Regions from separate parts of the Homo sapiens genome. Here region 2 is linked to region 1. The links are contacts of gene promoters, found by promoter capture Hi-C in blood cells and fetal thymus (Javierre and others, 2016). All regions are on one chromosome and are shown on one strand. Each heading gives the region's core, a stretch centred on a gene start or on the middle of the fragment in contact. The rest is flanking DNA. Distances are from core to core; before and after follow the strand shown.

Region 1 (7,482 bases), core at 1,591-4,090:
CTTTGGGGTAGACACTGCAGAGTGGAAGTGCATGGTAATCCTAGTTAACTTCTTTTTTTTTTTTTTTTTTTTGAGACGACGTCTCACTCTGTCAGCCCAGGCTGGAGTGCAGTGGCACGATCTCTGCTCACTGCAAGCTCCACCTCCGGGGTTCACGCCATTCTTCTGCCTCAGCCTCCCGAGTAGCTGGGACTACAGGCGCCCGCCACCACGCCCGGCTAATTTTTTGTAATTTTAGTAGAGACGGGGTTTCACCGTGTTAGCCAGGATGGTCTCGATCTCCTGACCTCGTGATCCACCCGCCTCAGCTTCCCAAAGTGCTGGGATTACAGGCATGAGCCACCGCACCCGGCCAACTTTTTTTTTTTTTTTTGAGACGGAGTCTCACTCTGTTGCCCAGGCTGGAGTACAGTGAGTGCAATGACATAATCTCGGCTCACTGCAACCTCCACTTCCGGAGTTCAAGCGATTCTCCTGCTTCAGCCTCCTGAGTAGCTGGGACTACAGGCGCACGCCACCATGCCCGGCTAGTTATTTTTGTATTTTTAGTAGAGACGGGGTTTCGTCATATTGGCCAAGCTGGTCTTGCAAGTGATCATATTGGCCAGGCTGACCGCAAGTGATCCGCCCACCTTGGCCTCCGAAAGTGCTGGGATTACAGGCGTGAGCCACCGCGCCTGGACCAATTCTAGTTAACTTTTTAAGGAACCGCCAAACTCTCTTCCACAGTGTGGGGTCAAGCCACTTCTAAGACTCCCATTAAACACCCAGGAGGAAGTGTCCAGTGGGCAGTGGGGTATTCTAGCACCGAGTCAGGGGAGGGGTCCAAGCTGGAGCTGAAAAGGAAAGGTGAGGCCCCAAGCAGGAGGGCGATGGAGCTCACTGAGGCTCTGGAAGGTTCACCTTCCAACCCTCTGCCCATCCCCACCAGCAGCAATGTTGTTGACAGTGGTGTGGTCCCTAGACACACACACGATGGATGGTGGCATATAATAGAAAATAACACCGAGTGATATTTATTGACTCAATCCCATCCACCCCCTCCATCCCTTTATGCTGCTTTCATTTCTTCACGGCTTCCTTCATCATTCCTTTTTATTTCTTCACAATTGGCGTCAACATGTGTCCCATTCATTTGTGTCCATCTGCTGACTGTCCCCCCTCACTAGCACGTAAACCCCCGTAAAGGCAGGAACCCTGTGGGCTTACTCACTGCTGCATCCTCAGCCCAGGGAGGCTGCTCAGGAGACATTTATTGAATGAAGATTTGCAGAACGAATGCACACCCCGCGCATCATGCCTGCTCCTGGGAAGCTCTATGGCAGCCTCTCGGCAGCTAGCTCAGGGCAGGGGCTGTTCAGATCAGGTTCTTGCAGAGAGGAAATGTAAGACTCCGTGGGCAGTCACCCCAGACCCCTGGGGGGTTCCTCCTGCAGGTAGAGCTCAGACGTTTCCTTCTCCCGGAACCCGAGGCCAGGCATCCTTCCCACCTCTATCATCCCTCTAGGTCCACGGGGGTGGGCGTGTCTGGGACTTGGCTGGACTGTTGCCATAGAAACAGCTGGAAGACGTGCCCACCACCACCACCACCAACTCCCACCTCTCTTCTGCATCACCTTTTCTCTCTCTTTTGAGACAGGGTCTCACTCTGTCAACTCAGGCTGGAGTGCGGTGGTGAAATCACAGCTCCCAGCAGCCTTGATCTCTGGGACTCAAGTTATCCTCCCACCTCAGCGTCCTGAGTACCTGGGACTATAGGTGCGCACGACCACGCCGGGCTAATTTTTTTTTTTTTTTTTTTTGTAAAGACACGGTTTTGCTGTGTTGGCGAGGCTGGCTGGTCTCCTGCTTGAGCAATTTGCCCACCTTGGCCTCCCAGAGTGCTGGGATTTACAGGCGTGAGCCGCCGCACCCGGACGACCCTTTCTCAGCCTGTATCTCCCTTCTGAAATAGCAGCAGCAGCAAACACTTTCATATTTCACCTGCAATATGCCAGGCACTGTTCTAAGCTCTTTACACATATTCCCTCAGTTCATCCTCCTGACCACTCAGAGATAACCATCCTTATCCCCATTTTACAGATGGGGGACTTGGGGCACAGGGAGCTTAGATAAGAGCCTGTCAGTGTCAGGCAGCTGGCAGGAGGTCCAGTCGGCAGGGGAACCACCCTGCTGTGGTTGTGGTTCAGCTGTGGACAGAGACCCTTCAAACCCGACGCCGTAACAGTGGTGTGTGTGTGCGTGTGCATGCCAGGGAGAGAGAGAGAGAGAGGGAGAGAGAGGGAGGGAGGGAGGGCACCTAAGATCCCTTGATTATCAGATCTAACTAAGGGAGAGAAATTGGCATTTCGGGGCACTGAGGACCATAGGGGTGTAAGTCAGTGGTTCTCCACGGGGGCAGCTGTGGCCTCCTCCCACCAGGGGAACATTTGGCAATGCCTGGAAACATCTTACATTGTCACAACTCGGGGGAATGTGGTGCTGCTGGCATGGAGAGGGCGCTGCTAAACATCCTACAGCGCTCAGGACAGGCGCTCACCACAAAGCAGCATCGGTCCCCGAATGTCAGTGTTGAAAAACCGTGCACTGCCTCTTCCCACTTGCCTGGTCTATAAACTCAAATTCTCAACTTCTCTCTCTCCTCCTCCCTCCCTCTCCTCCCCCTCCTCCTCCTCCCCTTCTTTTCTCCCTCCTTCCCCGTCTCCCTGACTCCTCCTTTCCCACCCACCCCTCATCTGTCTCGCTTCCTTCCCTCCCTCCGCGGTCCCCACTCCCCTCGCCACCCTCCCCTCCCCTTCGCGCGCCTCCCTCCAGCTGCCTCCCCTGCCCTCTCCTCTTCGCCGCCCCCGTTTCTTCTCCTTACATCGCGCCTCGCCTCGCTCCTCGTCCTAATGTCTGCACACCCCTCTGGTGTCTGTCGACCCTCCCAATCGCTTCTCCCGCATTCATCTCTCGCCTGATCCCGGTTCTGTCCGCCCATGCTCATTTCTCTCCCCCAGCCGTGCCCGGGCGCGTTTCCATTACTCTCCCATCGTCGCCCACCGCGCGTGGGGCGGCCAACTTGGGCCCACGCAGCTCAGCTCCCTCCGCCCTTCCTGCCTCCTGGCGCCTGTTGCTCCCCACACTCTGCCGCCCCCCGCCCGCCCTCCCCAGCCTCTCTGCCCACCCATCTCTACGTTTCTCACCCTCTGACCGTTTCTCTCCCGCCCAGCGCTCCAACCTCTGCTCTCGTTCTCCCCGCAGCCTGGCGGCCCAGTGCGACCCCCTGCAAGCCCCATGCCGGCCCTCCTGCTCCTCGTACTCCTGGCCTCTAGCGCCGGCCAGGCCAGGGCGCGCCCGTCCAACGCCACGAGCGCCGAGCCCGCGGGCCCGCTGCCCGCCCTGCTGGCGCACCTGCGGCGCCTGACCGGGGCGCTGACGGGCGGCGGGGGCGCGGCGAGCCCAGGCGCCAACGGCACCAGGACCGGCCCCGCGGGCGGGGCGGGCGCGGCGGCCCGGGCGCCCCCTCCCGCCGAGCTCTGCCACGGCTACTACGATGTCATGGGCCAGTACGACGCCACCTTCAACTGCAGCACCGGCTCCTACCGCTTCTGCTGTGGCACCTGCCACTACCGCTTCTGCTGTGAGCACCGTCACATGCGCCTGGCGCAGGCCTCCTGCTCCAACTACGACACGCCGCGCTGGGCCACCACGCCGCCGCCGCTAGCTGGGGGCGCCGGGGGCGCTGGGGGTGCGGGCGGGGGGCCAGGGCCCGGCCAGGCCGGGTGGTTGGAAGGGGGCCGGACTGGGGGTGCCGGGGGCCGCGGGGGCGAGGGCCCCGGGGGCAGCACAGCCTACGTCGTGTGCGGGGTCATCAGCTTCGCCCTGGCCGTGGGCGTCGGCGCCAAAGTGGCCTTCAGCAAGGCGTCCCGTGCGCCCCGGGCGCACCGGGATATCAACGTGCCCAGGTGCGTGTGCTCTCGGGCGGGAGGACTGCGAGCCTGGGGCGGGGCCCAGCAAGGGAGGTGGAGCCATCCGAGGAGGAGGGGCTGCAGGGATAGGGCGTGGTGGTCAGAGACCCAGGTGGCGGCCGCCGGCGTAGCTGAAGGTGGGCAGGGGCTGAGAAAGTCGCGCCAGAGCCGGCCCGGCTGTTGCGGAGTGATGCAGGGAGAGGGAGAAGCCCAGACTCTCATTCATTCGACACATATTTCTTGAGCACCTTCTGTGGGCCAGGAGCTGGGGATACACCAGTGAACAAAACAAGGTCTCTGCCCTGGTGGAAAAGCCTGACTTCCAAATCCAAGTTCACAGCCTACAGGCTATGTGACAGTGGATGAGTTGCTTAACGTCTCTGTTCCTCAGTTTCCTGTCCGCACAATGAGACTAATCATCGTCCCCACCTATTCGGATTGTAATTAACTGAGTTGATTCGTGCAGGGTCCTGGCACACGGTAAGGGCTCATTAACTATCAGTGGCCCAGTCCGTAAGCATGTGCAGTGTAATTTTAGATGACTGCTGTGAAGAAAATCAGCGGAAAGTGTTGAGAGAGAGGGCGCTGGATTAGAGGAAGTGATCCGAAAAGGCCTCTGAACGGAGACCCGAAGGGAGGGAGCGAACCACGCAGAGATCTGTGGGCGAGAGGTTTTGGGCAGGGGAACCGCGTGCAAAGGCCCTCGGTGGCCTGCAGGGCAGGGAAGCGCCCGTGCAGCTGGCGGCGGTGGGCAGCAGGAGGTGAGGAGAAGTAGGCGGGCCCGGGTTTATCCTAAGTGTGATGGGGCCACTGCAGGGTCCTGAGCTCGGGCGTGATGCCATCTGTCCATTTTTTAAATTATGCGGGCTGCGCGTGAGACTGGAGTGTACGGGGCTAGGGTGGGAGTGGGGAGACCCGTGAGGGGGCTGTTGCAATGATCCAGGTGAGAGATTGCAGAGGTGGTGAGTAGTGGTCTGATTTGGGATATGTTTTGGAGGTTCGATCCGTAGGATTGCTGAAAGGTATGAAGGTGGGGGAAAGAAGAGTCAAGGTGATTTAATGTTTGAGGTCCGCATCACTGGGTAAATGGAGCACCCTTTGTTGCCATGGGGAAGGCTGCAAAAGGAACGGGAATGGGGTCCCAGATTCAGGGTGGGGCGAGCCCACAGGGAAGTGAGAGGGACCACAGAAGCGATGGCTTCCACACGAGTTAAGGCAGCAGCGCTTCAAGCAGGAAGTGTGGCCTGAGAAAGGGGGTCATTCTAGGGGGCGTGGCCAACGAGAAAGGGGCGTGGCCAATGGCGAAAAAGGCAGGCTGAGTGACAGATTACCCAAGGGCGAGAGCAGGGAGCGGAAAGAAGCCTTCCTGGTACCCCTGCCACCCTCAGCCCCCAGGCCTTTGACCACCTCTCTGCCACCTTTAGAGCTCTGGTGGACATTCTGAGACATCAGGCGGGGCCTGGGACCCGCCCGGACCGGGCCCGAAGCAGCTCCCTGACCCCGGGGATCGGCGGTCCCGACAGCATGCCCCCCAGGACGCCCAAGAACCTCTACAACACCGTGAAGACCCCCAACCTCGGTGAGTGGAACGTGGGATCCGGCGCAGCCTCCGTCTCTGGCCACGCCCCTTCATCATGTAGCCCCGCCCTCCATGGCGGCTCCACCCCCATCGCCCAGGACCCGCCCTCACCCCCTACGCCCGCCTTGCACTGCCGGGTCCTGCCCTGCGAAAGGCGGACGGGGGCTAGGAACTCCGTAGAGAGCCAGACCCTCTCCTTGCCCTCCTGTGGACCCCCCTGGGTGGGGCTCCATGGGCACCTTGGTGATGTAGGTTTAGACATTCTCAAGCCCCTGCGCTCGGTGTCAGACCACCTAACAGCCAACTACACACAAGGGCACAACTACCAAATTCGAATTTGTCAGGAGCCAGACCGACTGGGTTTGAATCCTGACTCTGCCATTGTGTGACCTGGGGCAAGTGACCTCACCTCTGTGGGCCTCAGTTTCTCCATCCATAAAATAAGAAACATAACAATACTCACTTCATGGGGTTATGGTGAAGAGCAAATGAATTGGTGAGGCAGGTGATTAGAATAATGTGTAACACAGAAAAAAATACTATGTAAGTGTGGGCTGTTGCTATTGTTAAATATATATAATTATATATTTAAAATATGATATATCATATTTAATATTGTATATCATTTAAATATGATCTATATTATTATAATTTATGATGAATGCATCAGTGGAGAGGTCCAAGGAGCTGTCAGGGGAACTGAGAAGATGTGGTCTGGTTTGGGGGCAGAAGGGCTTCTCCGAGGGGGAGGTATTTGAGCAAAGGCCTGGAGGAGGAGAGGCGTTAGAAGGGCTTCTCCAAGGGAGAGGTATTTGAGCAAAGGCCTGGAGGAGGAGAGGCATTAGAAGGGCTTCTCCGAGGGAGAGGTATTTGAGCAAAGGCCTGGAGGAGGAGAGGCGTCAGAAGGGCTTCTCCGAGGGAGAGGTATTTGAGCAAAGGCCTGGAGGAGGAGAGGAGTTACTGGGGCTGGGAAGCTCCAGGTGGCAGAGCTTGTGAGGTGACCAGACTTGAGGCCAGGGAGAGGGTGGTTGGTGACCTCAGAGAGGGCCTTGAGCGCCAGGCTGGGCTGAGGAACTCCGCCTCCGTCCTGAGGGTGATGGAGAGCTGCGGAGGAGTTCCAGCAGAGGAGCAACACAGCCAGCAGTGGGTGGTAGAACCGGTCCTCTGGAACCCATGCAAAGGGCAGAGATGAGAGGAAAGAGGCCCAGGAGGAGGCTGGGATGATGGTCCAGGCAGCAAGAGGACAAGGACGGAGCTGGGATCAGGGGTGGAGAGGAGAAGAGACATCTGAGCTGGATCTTGAGGCAGATGGGAAGAAGGGCTTCAAGGCAGTGAGAACAGCATGGTGGCATGTGCAAAGGCCCTGTGGCAGGACCACGCTGGGCTCACTGGAGAGAGCAGTGCGGCTTGAGGGAAGGGATGGGAGATGGGGCTGCAGACATCCAGTGGGTCCAGGTTTTGAAGCCTCAAACACCATTCCTGGGTTCAACTTTGTCCCGTGGGTGATGGTGAGCCAATGGGAAGGCTGTTGAGCAGTGGAAGGGCAGTTACCTCGGTGAGGCTGATCATGGAGATGGATGGGCTGGATGGCCAGAGGCTGCTTTGGTGATCCAGGAGGGAGAGGACACATCAGGGCAGAGATTCAGATGTCAGAAGGAACCAAGTGGACATGAGTGGGAGGTGGAGGGAGGTAGCAAGGCGACCCCCTCAGATCTCTAGCCTGGGCACCAGGGGGGGGGGTGCTAAGAACTTGGGACAGACCACTTACCCAGCCCTGAGCCTGTGCCCACACTTTCCACCTTCAAGACCCCCAGCCTCAGTTTCCCCCATGTGGCCAATGGCATGGGTTGATCTGTGGAGCTCTAACGAGGTCCTGCATGTGGGGCCGACCTTGGGGCCAGAGTCCTTCCCAGAGATCAGGGCCACGGTGCCAGCTGGGAGTCAGTGATGGCA
Region 2 (7,316 bases), core at 4,271-6,770, 120 kb after region 1:
GAAAGAACTTGATTAGCAGGGAGGACTTCAGCTGGTCTCCAGCCTCCAGCAGTAGCACCTTCAGCAGTGTTTGATTTGGATTGCTATTACATTCTTTTTATGCAGCCTTGACCGATGACTAAGCATGGGGTGGGGAGCAGAGCCTGGCCGTTTCTGCCCAATGTGGACACCTCTAAAGTCAATGTGCTAAAGTGTTTATTTATTTATTTATTAAATTTAACTTTTTGGCCAGGCGCGGTGGCTCTCACCTGTAATCCCAACACTTTGGGAGGCCGAGGCGGGCGGATCACGAGGTCAGGAGATCAAGACCATCCTGAATAACACAGTGGAACCTCATCTCTACTAAACATACAAAAAAAAAAAAAAAAAAATTAGCCGGGCGTGGTGGCGGGCGCCTTTAGTCCCAGCTACTCGGGAGGCTGAGGCAGGAGAATCCTTTGAACCCGGGAGGCGGAGCTTGCAGTGAGCCGAGATCGCGTCACTGCACTCCAGCCTGGGCCAAAGAGCGAGACTCCGTCTCAAAAAAAAAAAAAAAAAGTTAAATTTAATTTTTAAATTATTTATTTATTTATTTATTTATGTATTTATTTATTTATTTTTTGGGACGGAGTCTCGCTCTGTCGCCCAGGCTGGAGTGCGGCGACGCGATCTCGGCTCACTGCAACTGCCGCCTCCCGGGTTCCCGCCGTTCTCCTGCCTCAACCTCCCGGGTAGCTGGGACCACAGGCGCCCGCCACCACGCCCGGCTAATTTTTTTGTATTTTTAGTAGAGATGGGGTTTCACCATGTTAGCCAGGATGGTGTTGATCTCCTGACCTCGTGATCCGCCCGCCTCGGCCTCCCAAAGTGCTGGGATGACAGGCGTGAGCCACGGCGCCCGGCCCACTCTAAGCATTTTAAAGTATAATTCGGTGTCGTCTAGCACAGTCCCAATGTTGTGCAACCTTCGTCTCTATCTAGTTCCAAAACAGTTTCATAACCCCCATAAGGAAACTCCAAATAAGCAATCATTTCCCATCCTCCCCTCTTCCCACCCCTTGCAACCACTGACTTGCTTTCGGTCTCCATGGACTTGCGTATGGGTGATCTTTGCACCACATTTCCCAGCTGACCTGACCGGGGTTCTCAGAACTGCACATGGTCTGTGATTCTTCCACTCTCCCCATCTCCTTTCTCCAGTGTCAGACCCAGACCCACTCACGTTGCAGTCTGAAGTCTCTCCCAGCCACTCCTGGTCTTTCTCCTCCTTTTTCTTTTTTTCTTTTTTTTTTTGTATTTTTAGTAGAGACGGGGTTTCACCATATTGGCCAGGCTGGTCTTGAACTCCTGACCTCGTGATCCGCCTGCCTTGGCCTCCCAAAGTGCTGGGATTACAGGCTTAAGCCACCGCGCCTGGCCTTTCTCCTCCTTTATCCTTCAGCAACCTCATCCCCAGTCAATCTCTTGCTTTTCTTTTCTTTCTTTCTTTTTTGTTTTTTTGAGAGGGAGTTTCGCTCTTGTCGTCCGGGCTGGAGTGTAGTGGCACAATCTCGACTCACTGCAACCTCCACTTCCTGGATTCAAGCGATTCTCCGGCCTCAGCCTCTTGAGTAGCTGGGATTACAGGCGCCCGCCACCATGCCCAGCTAATTTTTGTATTTTTAGTAGAAACGGGGTTTCGCCATATTGGCCAGGCTGGTCTCGAACTCATGACCTCAGGTGATCCACCCGCCTCAGCCTCCCAAAATGCTGGGATTACAGGCGTGAGCCACCGGGCCCGGTCAGACAGGCATTCTTTTAGGGTCTTATGTGGATAACCCCAATAAACCCTCACAATTGCACGAGGGCAGACCATCATGATCCCTGTTTTGCAGACAAGAAAACAGAGGTCCGAGACCCATCTATCTCTAGAGGTGTACATCCCCTCCCTGGGGAAGGTTCTGAGACCTCTGTGTTCCTAGACGTCTACATCCCCTCTCTGGGGAAACTTCCAGGCAGGGGACATAGACATCTAGGGATATAAAAATAAAAATAGGCCGGCCGCGGTGGCTCACGCCTGTAATCCTAGCACTTGGGAGGCCGAGGCGGGTGGAACACCGGATGTCAGGAGTTTGGGACTAGCCTGACCGACATGGAGAAACCCTGTTTCTACTAAAAAAATACAAAATTAGCCGGGTGTGGTGGTGCATGACTGTAATTCCAGCTACTTGGGAGGCTGAGCAGGAGAATCGCTTGAACCCGGGGGCAGAGGTTGCGGTCAGCTGAGATCGCGCCATTGCACTCCAGCCTGGGCAACAAGAGCGAAACTCCGTCTCAAAAATAAAAAATAAAATAAAAAAATAAAAATAAAAATAAAAACCAGTCCCCACCACCAACCACAAGCGGTTTCCTCAATATGAAAGTGCAACGTCATCTTTCTCAGAGGAAAAGCACAGCCTCTTCCCCTCGGCTGAGCCAGGCCAGCAGCCCTAGCTTCTGGAAGGATCCTTCAGGCTCCAGACACCCAACCTACCCGTGGCCGGTGAGTGGGGCCTAATTCCCAACTTGAAAGTAGCTCGGCAGGCTGGAGCCCTGTCCCCTGTCCTCCCAGGGAGGGTCCAAGCAGGTCACATAAGCACCGTGGGGACACCAGTGAGCCAAACTCATCTTTGTGCCAGGACACCGAGTTGGGTATGGAGGCTCAGAGCGGGGACAAGTCTTCCTTAGGATCACCTGGGCTTTCTCGTCTTTATTATTATTATGTTTTTGGAAGAGAAGTGGGAATCAGCCAGGTGGCAAACACAGGACAGGGCAGGGCAGGAGATCAGTGTTGAGGGCCGACGGAGGAGCAGGTAGCATGGACCCCTCCCTCCCCTGGGCTCCCTCATAGCTTTGTGTGACTTCCTTTAGAGGAGCTGTCACCTGCTGATCATCTGTGTTGCCCACAGACAGGGATTCCCCTGAGGGCAGGGGGTGGCTCAGATTCATGTCTGGGCAAACGGAGACCTCCGGAAAAAGAAGCGAAAGGAGGAAGACGAGACCCAGAGGAGAGGCATTTGGCAGCAGAAGGGGTGAGGAGGACTTGGAGAGCTTTGCCCTCTATCAGCCCCACTGGGACAGGATTTATTTTTTATTTTATTTATTTATTTTATTTTATTTATTTTTGGAGACGGAGTCTCACTCTGTCGCCCAGGCTGGAATGCAGTGGTGCGATCTCGGCTCACTGCAACCTCCGCCTCCTGGGTTCAAGCGATTCTCCTGCCTCAGCCTCCCGAGTAGCTGGGATTACAGGTGCCTGCCACCACACCCGGCTAATTTTTGTATTTTTAGTAGAGACGGGGTTTCACTATGTTGGCCAGGCTGGTCTCAAACTCCTGATCTCATGATCTGCCCACCTCGGCCTCCCAAAGTGCTGGGATTGCAGGCGTGAGCCACCATGCCCGGCCACCCAGCTAATTTTTTTTTGTATTTTTAGTAGAGACAGGTTTTCACCATGTTGGCCAGGCTGGTCTCGATCTCCTGACCTCAGGTGATCCACCTGCCTCAGCCTCCCAAAGTGCTGGGACTACAGGCGTCAGCCACCTTGCCCAGCCGACCCTGGCTGTTTAAAAAATAAAAATAAAAAATAAAGGAATGAAACACTAATACATGCCACAACATGGATGAATCTCAAAAACATTACACTGAGCATAAAATACACCAGACGGGTTGGGCGCGATGGCTTCCGCCTGTAATCCCAGCACTTTGGGAGGCTGAGGCAGGGGGATCACTTGAGGTCAGCATTTTGAGGCCAGCCTGGCCAACATGGTGAAACTCTGTCTTTATCAAAAAATGCAAAAATTAGCCAGGCATAGTGGCGGGCACCTGTAATCCCAGCTACTTGGGAGGCTGAGGCATGAGAATCACTTGAACCCAGGAGGTGGAGGTCCCAGTGAGCCAAGATTGTGCCACTGCACTCCAGCCTGGGCAACAGAGGGAGACTCTGTTTCAGAAAAAAAAAAAAAAAAAAAAGGTTGGGCGCAGTGTCTCACGCCTGTAATCCCAGCACTTTGGGAGCCTGAGGCGGGTGGATCACCTGAGGTTGGGAGTTCGAGACCAGCCTGGCCAACATGGTGAAACCCCATCTCTACTAAAAATACAAAAATTAGCCAGGCATGGTGGCACCGGCCTGTAATCCCAGCTCCTCAGGAGGCTGAGGCAGGAGAATCACTTGAACCCGGGAAGCAGAGGTTGCAGTGAGCCGAAATTGCGCCACTGCACTCCAATCTGGGTGACAGAGGGAGACTCTGTCTCAAAAAAAAAAAAAGAAAGAGGCGATGGTTGCATAACATTGGGAGTGCACTAATGTCGCTGAGTCGCACATTTTTTTTTTCTTTTTTCTGAGACAGAGTTTTGCTCTTGTCACCCAGGCTGGAGTCCAATGGCATGATCTGGACTGACTGCAACTTCTGCTTCCCAGGTTCAAGGGATTCTCCTGCCTCAGCCTCCGGAGTAGCTGGGATTACAGGCTCCCGCCACCACACCCAGCTAATTTTTGCATTTTTAGTAGAGATGGGGTTTCACCATGTTGGCCAGGCTAGTCTCAAACACCTGACTCCAGATGATCTGCCCACCTTGGTCTCCCAAACTGCTGGGATTACAGGCGTGAGCCGCCGTGCCTGGCCGAGTCGTACACTTTAAAATGGCTAATGTTATGTGGATTTTATGTCCATTAAAAGACACGAGGTGGCATAGTGAGAGAGGAGGTGGCTGGGACTTCTGTGTCTAAGGGAAGAGTTCTGGGGGCCTGGACTCCTGCATTTTGGGGAAGGAGGAAGGAGTTGGAGCTTGGACTCCTGGGTCCCCAAGGGTGGAGGCTCCGATCTGAGTCCAGGGGAGGATAGGGCTGAGAGTTTGGATGTTGAATACACAAAGCTGGAGGAAGGAAATTAGGGTCCCCCAAAGCTACGGTGCTGCCTGTGAGGTTCTAAGGAGACAGGACACGGTGGTTTGGGGACAGAGAGCCGTTAGGAAGTGGCAGTCAGACCAAAGGACCCAGGCAGTCCTGCAGCCTGGACTTTGCCTCTGCAGGATGTCTGCCTGAGCCCCACCCCGAATGCCAGCCCTTCTTCCCTGAGCTCACCCAGCCCCAGCTCCAGGACTGAGAGCCCCAGGAAGCTTGGAGAGGTGAGCATCCTGGGGAGGCCCTGGAGGCTGGGAGGTGCACGGAGGGGCTGGGAGGGCAGGGAGAAACTCCCCAAGCAGGAGAATGTGTGAGCTAGGACTGAACACTGAAACAGGTGAAGAGATTGCTTGGAGTGGAGGACAGCTGGCCGATTAGATCAGACCCCCACCCGTGACGTCTGCCTGAGAGCCAATGGGGGCCCAGAGGCCGTGGCCACAATCTCATGCACCTGGGCCCTCCCCAAGGGGCTGGTTCTTCAGGTGTGAAGGGGAGGAGAGAGAAAGAGGAAAGCGAGAGGGGCCCAGCTTCAGCCCCTCTCATTCTCCTGCAGAGCCCAGCATGTGAGGCTTACCTGTCCCTGTCCCTGCTGGCTGGGCTATCTTGGGGTCTGGACCTCGTGAGTGTCAGAGGCAGGAGGGACTCCGGAGTCTAAGGAAGGAGGGCCTAGAGGTCTGACCCTGGGTCTGAGGGAGGAGGGGCTGAGGGACTGGACTCCTGGGTCCTGGGAAGAAGGAAGAGGCCATGACTCCAAATCCCTAAATACCAAGCCAGGAGGAGGTCAGAAGCTGAAGATGGCTGTTGGGAGAGAGAAGGAAAAGGGTCAGGCGGCAGGAGCAGTCTTTGTCTGGCTGGGGGAATTTTCGGATGGAGATGTCATCGCTGAAAGCTCCCTTCCCACCCATGCTCAGCCTGCCTGGGGAACTCCAGCAGGCAAAAGGAGAAGGGTGAGAGGAAGGAGAGTGGAGGGGAGGAGGCAGGGTTGTCAGTGCTCCATATCTCCCAGCCCCAAAACAGAAGCTTCACCCAGAGAGCAGGCCGACCTGAGGCCCTCACTCTTGGGTACCCGAGTAGGTAAGAGCTGGGAGGTTGGACATCAGGAGCTGGAGAAGAATATCTGTATTCTAGGAGGAACTGGGGCCCCGGAATTCTGGGTCTTCCAGGCTGGAGAGAGCTGGAGGCTCAGATTCCTGGTTCCTGGGGAGGGAAGGGCTGAGACTTTGGACGTTGAACCCACAAAGCTGGAGGAAGGAAGTTAGGGGCCCCTGAAGCTAAGGTGCTGCCTGCTAGGTTCTGAGGAGGGAGGACATGGCGGTTTGGAGGTAGAGAGCCCCTCAGGAAGTGTTGGTCAGACCCAAGACCCCAGGCAGCCCTCCAGCGCTCCAGCTGGGACTTTGCCTCTGCCTTGGCCTGTCTGAGCCCCATCCCGAATGCCAGCCCTTCTTCCCTAAGCTCACCCAGCCCCAGTCCCAGGACTGAGAGCCCCAGGGATCTTGGAGAGGTGAGCATCTCCAGGAGGTCCTGGAGGCTGGGAGGTGCAAGGAGAGGCTGGGAGGTGCAAGGAGGGGCTGGGAGGACAGGGAGAAATTCCTCAAGCAGGAGAATGCGTGAGATAGGGTTGAACACTGCGGGATAGGTGGGGAAATTGCCTGGAAATGGAGAGCTGGCCAATCAGATCAGACCCCTACAGGTGACTTCTGCCTGAGAGCCAAGCGGGGCCTAGTGGTTGGGGCCACAATCTCATGCACCTGGGCCCTCCTTGAGGGCTGGTTCTTCAGGTGTGAGAGAGACAGGTGTCCAGCCTCAGCCCCGATCCTTCACCTGCAGAGCCCGGCATGTGGGGCTACCTGTCGCTGATGCCTGTCTTCCTAGCTGTCTGGGCTATCTCTGGCGTCTGGATCGTGTGAGTGTCAGAGGCATGATGGACTCCTGGGTCTGAGGGTGGAGGGGGCTGGGGCCTGGATTTCTGGGTCTGAGGGAGGAAGGGGTTGGGGGCCTGGATCCCTGGATCTGAGGGAGGAGGAGCTGGAGGCCTGGACTCCTGGGTCTGAGGGAGGAGGGGCTGGGGGTCTGGACTCCTGGGTCTGAGGGAGGAGGGGCTGGGGGATCTGGACTCCTGGGTCTGAGGGAGGAGGGGCTGGGGGCCTGGACTCCTGGTCTGAGGGTGGAGGGGGCTAGAAGTCCTTGTTTGTTTGGTTAACAGAAGGAAAAGTTGTTGGTGAGAGTCGCCCACTCACTCTGATTTCCTCCGTAGTTTTGCCATTGCAGTGACCAACAGGACTGTGGACCTCAGTAAAGGCTTTCCCTACATCAGGTAATTCTGCCCGAGGGTAGGGATTTGGGGGGATCGCCGCTGCAGGAAAGTGGAGGCCCTAGCTTGGATTGCCCAGGATGACCCCTTTGTCTTCCCCAGCAT

The links. The method cuts DNA at HindIII sites, captures the fragments that hold promoters and counts their contacts. A CHiCAGO score of 5 or more calls a contact.
Region 2: a contact is called between a fragment that was not itself captured here and the fragment with the promoter of SHISA7 in region 1, in 1 of 17 cell types (naive CD8 T cells). The highest score is 5.4, in naive CD8 T cells.

Annotation. Positions count from the first base shown.
Region 1 is chr19:55,438,658-55,446,139 of GRCh38, reverse strand. It overlaps SHISA7 (shisa family member 7), which reads left to right and starts at 2,840. Exons shown (of 4, transcript NM_001145176.2): 1 at 2,840-3,947; 2 at 5,375-5,529. The coding sequence starts at 3,277. RefSeq lists silencers at 3,937-4,026, 5,591-5,660 and an enhancer at 3,520-4,148. The HindIII fragment of the contact is 48,275 bases long and covers 1-7,482 here.
Region 2 is chr19:55,320,456-55,327,771 of GRCh38, reverse strand. It overlaps TMEM150B (transmembrane protein 150B), which reads left to right and starts at 2,431. Exons shown (of 8, transcript NM_001282011.2): 1 at 2,431-2,500; 2 at 5,029-5,124; 3 at 6,679-6,803; 4 at 7,155-7,214; 5 at 7,314-7,316. The coding sequence starts at 6,736. The HindIII fragment of the contact is 805 bases long and covers 5,118-5,922 here.